2 separate regions of the Homo sapiens genome follow, and region 2 is linked to region 1. The links are contacts of gene promoters, found by promoter capture Hi-C in blood cells and fetal thymus (Javierre and others, 2016). All regions are on one chromosome and are shown on one strand. The core of a region is centred on a gene start or on the middle of the fragment in contact, and the rest is flanking DNA. Distances in the headings are between cores, read along the strand shown.

The links. Contacts are between HindIII fragments. The CHiCAGO score rates a contact against its expected background, and 5 or more counts as called.
Region 2: a contact is called between a fragment that was not itself captured here and the fragment with the promoter of LONRF3 in region 1, in 5 of 17 cell types (total B cells, monocytes, M0 macrophages and 2 more). The highest score is 9.2, in total B cells.

Annotation. Positions count from the first base shown.
Region 1 is chrX:118,973,296-118,975,995 of GRCh38, reverse strand. It overlaps LONRF3 (LON peptidase N-terminal domain and ring finger 3), which reads right to left and starts at 1,378. Exons shown (of 11, transcript NM_001031855.3): 1 at 399-1,378. The coding sequence starts at 1,215. The HindIII fragment of the contact is 6,269 bases long and covers 1-2,700 here.
Region 2 is chrX:119,091,267-119,094,003 of GRCh38, reverse strand. It overlaps KIAA1210, which reads left to right. Exons shown (of 12, transcript NM_001394962.1): 8 at 229-337. Among named protein-coding and RNA genes, the nearest start is that of CT47C1, 20 kb to the right of the region's middle. The HindIII fragment of the contact is 6,964 bases long and covers 1-2,737 here.

The DNA.
Region 1 (2,700 bases), core at 129-2,628:
GGAGAAGGAGAGTCAGAGGAACAGAGACAGTGACACCGAAAAAGAAAGAAACAGTGACAAAGATACGAAGAGACGGAGAAAAAGAACCAGAAGCAAGGAGACACAGACAGGAACGGGGACTGAGAGACAGGAACACAAAAGCTAACAGAAGTAGCAGGAAAAGACAAAAAGCAACCGAGATCAACACAAACACAGTGAAACACAGATAAGCAGTGAAAACAGAACAAACTCAGAGACCCAGCCCCAGAATCACCCCTCCCCCACCCCGCCACAGTCCATGGGTCCCCCGCCCCCTCTTCTGCCCTGGTCCAAATCCCTTCTCGCTGCGGGGTTTGTTCTCCCGCTCCCTCATGTAGCCACCGAGCCCCAGCCCCGGCCCGGCAGCGCGTTGGACTCACCCAACTTAACTGCCTCGTTGTACTTGAGCAGTGCCGCCTCCACCTGGCGCTCGCGGTACAGTCGGTTGCCCTCGTGCCGGAGTTGCGACGCTCGCGCTGGGCCTGGAAACAACTTGCCGAGGAGGCCGCTGAGCACCACGTTGACTCGCAGCGGCGGCGGCGGCTGCTGCCCAGCCCGCCGGGCTCCACGCGCCCGCCCAGTGGCCACCATCAAGGCGGAGAGCTTGACCCCGCACAGCGCACAGCGCCGGTCGGCGGCCCGCCCACGTTCCAGGCACAGTTTACAAAAGGTGTGGCCACACGACAAGGACACGGGGTCTGATAGAAACCCATGACATTTCCGGCACTTAAAGCCGTCCCACACCTCGGTGGCCGCCGCAGCCGCGGCGGCCCCCGTCTCTTCCGCCGCCACGGTGCCGCTTGCAGTGCTACCCTCGTCCGGGGGCGCCGGCGCCAGCGCCTCGCCTTGCGGGACTTTCTCCGCCAGGCAGCGCACCAGCTGCTCCAGCTGCTCAGCCACCAGCTGCTGCCGCTCGGAGAGCTGTCTATACACCTCGAGGGCTTCACGGATTCGCCCCCGGGACGCCAAGGCGTCTGCCTGCGTGAGCAGGACTTTGCTCTCCGGCGTTGAGGTCCCCGGAGACTGCTCTTGCTCTGGCTCCCGCGTCGGTAGAGGTGCGGGGCCCTCTGCAGCCACCTTTGGGTGGGGGCCCATGTCTACTTGGGCCGCTGATGCCCCTCGCTCCGCCGACTCCAAGTTGTCGCTGCTGACCTCAGCGGGCAAGCTCAGCATCTGTTCGATCCGTACTGACTCCATGGGAAGAGGGACACGGGAGGAGACGAGGCGTCTAGGGACCGGGGACACGAAGCAAGGAGTGGCAGCTGGAGGAAATCGGGGCAGCCACCGCCGCCATGCCACCGAGCTCCTGACCCTGCCGCGCCTCCGGGAGCTCCATGCCGGCCGCCCCGCGCCGCCTAATAACTGTCTTGTCTCAGCAAAGTGTTATATAAAACGGTACCACGTGACGTGCCGCCACGCTGTTCATTGGCCGGCGGCGGGGAAATTGTTACAAAACCAGACAGTTTTGTAACAGTGTTGCTCTTGCTTCTTTGGGCTTCGCTTTTCTTGGCTTCTTTTTGAGGTTGTTTGTGTTTACACTTCGCCTTATTCCTCCTCACCACCTGGTTCTTTTTCGGAAGTGGGGTTGTGGGGTGGGGAGAAACTCAGTGTCTTCTCTTGGGCTTCTCAGTCTCCAAACCCCACTCCATCCCACCTCCAAACGGGCCAGCAAACAGGTCCCCTCTGCCAGCCGCTGACCAGCGGCCCCCCACTCCTCCCAGGAGAGGCTGGTACCTCGAGGTGCACAGTCCGCAGGGTCTTCCGGGACGCCTAAGACTCTCCCTCTTGGGGGAGATGGCTGCTGTCAGGGAAAGGAAGCAGGTTGGGAGGGGTATCCGTGAAGCCCCCCCACACACACACAACCCAGTCCCAGCCCGAGAGCCCTGGGAGCCCCGCCTGGGTTCCTTGCCTTCTCCCAGGAGCCTCCCAAAGGTGGTGAATTCGGTTTCTGAGGGTGCTTGGTGTTCTGTGCCAAGAGTGACTCAGAGCAGCGGGTCCCACCGGCGCAGAAGTTGGGCAGCGCTCGCTGGACAGTGAGGAACTCGCGGAGAAGATGCGCTTGCCGGCTCAGCCCTGGGAGGGAGATGCCCCGCTAACTCCCCTCTTTACCTCTCTACCCCCAACGCCAGAACTAGCGCTGGGGCAGGCGGTAGGCGCCCAGCTGGAGACACACCAGGCCGGCCCCTGGAGCCACTGGCCGGATGGGCGCGGCAGGGATGTACCCGGCCTGCTGGGGTCGGTGGGTACTCTGGGGGCGTGGGAGAGTGGCAGGGGGAAGACGCGAGCTGAGAGCGCTATTCAGGAGAAAGTCCGCGAATCCCGGCACAGCCCAGTGGCAGACCGAATAGCCTCCAGGTTTGTCGCTCCTGAGCGCTGCGCGGGAAGGGTACAACTGGGCACGAGCCTCAGCGCCTGGTTTACAATGGCTAGGGGGCCTCGACGGTGTCCTACACACTTCCTGAAGGCGAGCGGGGTGGCCAACTGCACACTCTTTGTCTGCCTTGAACCCCCACATTTAGGACGGGAACCAAGCTCACAAATGAGCAGACAGAAAACGGTATAGTCGCACTGCTCCAAGCAGGGAGGCAGGGACTAGGCTTGCCGCTGGCTCAGTTGGCCTTCAGAGCCTGCGGGCTCTTGGGCAGTGCCAGGTTGCCGCCCCAGGGGCCTGAAGACCTATTG
Region 2 (2,737 bases), core at 164-2,663, 120 kb before region 1:
GATGAACCACTTCCAGTAGGTAAAATGATCCCCAAGGATCTCTTGGTGGAAACAATTCCATTAAGAAATCCCTGGAAATATCTCCATTGAAATAACGTCCATCTTTAAAGGTACTGTTACGTGCCCAGCATCAAGAACTTTTTTCCTGATGCTTTTTCTTTGGCAACCATGCAGGCGTGGTTGGAAAGCACTTCAGTAGGATTCAAGCTCTTTCTTTTCCTGTTTCAGGTGGAACCAAAGGAGGAGGAGCCAAACCTTCCATTGGTTTCTGAAGAAGAAAAGAGCATAACCAAACCAAAAGAAATCAACGAAAAGAAGCTGGGAATGGACAGTGCAGGTTAGCATATCTTCACCCTCACCCAGAAACATGTATGACAGACTTCATTGCACAGTGCTATGTTGATAGGAGCTATACCCAAGAACTACCCAAGACTGCTGCCCTTGGTCTTCAGAGAGCTTTCAATTTTATATGCAGAAAATGTTGTCCAGGCTTCTCCATCTAAACTGCCAAAGTAATACAATTGCCACTTGTGTGGGGTTCAGGTAAAGGATCATACCTGGATTCTTATTTTATGTAAATGAATTTCCAACAAGAGAGGTGTTTTGTTTGTGAATTTGTTTCATCCTCTCCGAGGCTAACGTACATGCTGAGTTCCTCAGTGAGCCCAGATATGAGAGGACAACCACTGATTTCCCCTTCAGCATTCTTCCTCAGCAGCAGAACCAGAAAGGAATAATAGAATTGGCCAAAAAATCATTTTTTTAAAGTTGCCTTTCTCTTCCTGTAGAGAGAAAATGTCTGTGTTAATAATGATACTATTGCCCACATCCTTGGACAAAGAGGGTTTATGCAGCTGCAGACAGATGTCCTTGGCAGCCAACACCTATCAAATCCCCAAACAACAAATATCACCAGAGTGAAAATCTCTCTGTGTGTTTATGTGGGTGCATATGTGGATGTTGGCTCCAGTTGATGGCAAGCTGATTTCTAGCAGTATTTGATAAAAAAATTCCAGTTCCTCAAATTAAGTTGAATAGTTATGTTACGTTTTTGCCACAAAGGATTTCACATGTGGGTCCAAAGACAGGACATTCCTAAACACGTTTTCCCATGAATACTAAGAAAACCACAAAACCCTCCAGAAAAAAAAAGAAAAAGGAAGATTAAATGAGTACTCTTTTGTCTTTTTGAGCTTTATTTTTATTTATTTATTTATTTATTTATTTATTTATTTATTTATTTAAGACGGAGTCTCACTCTGTCACCCAGGCTGGAGTGCAGTGGCATGATCTCGGCTCACTGCAACCTCCACCTCCCTAGTTCAAGCAATTCTCCTGCCTCAGCCTCCCTAGTAGCTGGGACTACAGGCGCCCGCCGCCACGCTTGGCTAATTTTTTGTATTTTTAGTAGAGAGGGAGTTTCACCGTGTTAGCCAGGATGATCTCAATCTCCTGACCTTGTGATCTGCCCACCTTGGCCTCCCAAAGTGCTGGGATTGCAGGCGTGAGCCACTGCACCCAGCCTTTGAGCTTTATTTTTTAATAGTTGTCTCTTTTACACACAGAGGATAGAACTGAGTCAGTATCCATGGTGGCAGATACTTTAGTTGATTTTCCATATCATGGAAGTGGTTTGGAGCATAGTCAGCTATTATCAGCGCTGTATGCTGGATATGAAACTACTGGATGGAGCTAAGGATGCAGCAGATAGTGAGGGAAGAAAGGCACAAGGGGCCCTTCCATCTGGGGATCAAAGTGAGTTCCTTAGAACTAGAAGAAAGGAGAGGAGTAATCTGTACAACTACTACCTTGTGCTTGACCTGAAGCCTGTGGACCAATGCAATTCTTAAGGCATTCCAAGAATTTCTTTGCATGTGTATTACATATGATCGGTTTAAAAAAATGTTTTTATTTCAATAGCTTTAGGGGTACAAGTGGTTTTTGGTTACACAGATGGATTGTATAGTGGTGAAGTCTAGGATTTTAGTGCACCTGTCATTAGAGTAATGTACATTGTACCCATTATGTAGTTTTTCATTCCTCACCCCCTCCTACCCTTCCCACTTTCTGAGTCTTCAGTGTCTAATATACCACTCTGTATGCCTTTGCATACCCATAGCTTAGCTCCCATTTATAAGGGAGAACATGTGGTATTTGGTTTTCGATTCCTGGGTTACTTCACTTAGAATATTGGCCTCCAGTTTCATCCAGGTTGCTACAAAAGACATTATTTCATTCTTTGTTATGCCTGAGTAGTATCACATTTTCTTTAGTTGATTTTCCATATCATGAAAGTGGTTTGGAGCACAGTCAGCTATTCTCAGCGCCGTATGCTGGGTATGAAACCCCTAGATGGAGCTAGGGATGCAGCAGATAGTGAGGGAAGAAAGGCAGCGAGGGACCCTTCCATCTGGGGATCAAAGTGAGTTCCTTAGAAAAGTACTAGAAGAAAGGAGAGGAGTAATCTGTACAACTACTAGCATGTGCTTGACATTTTCTTTATCTACTCATAGGTTGATGGGCACTTAGGTTGATTCCATATCCTTGCAATTGTGAATTGTGCTTCAATAAACATATGTGTGCAGGTGTCTTTTTGATATAATGACTTCTTTTCCTTTGGGTAGATACTCAGTAGTGGGATTGCTGGATTGAATCATAGATCTATTTTTAGTTCTTTGGGAAATTTCCATACTGTTTTCCACAGAGGTTGCACTAATTTACATTCCCAGCAGCGGTG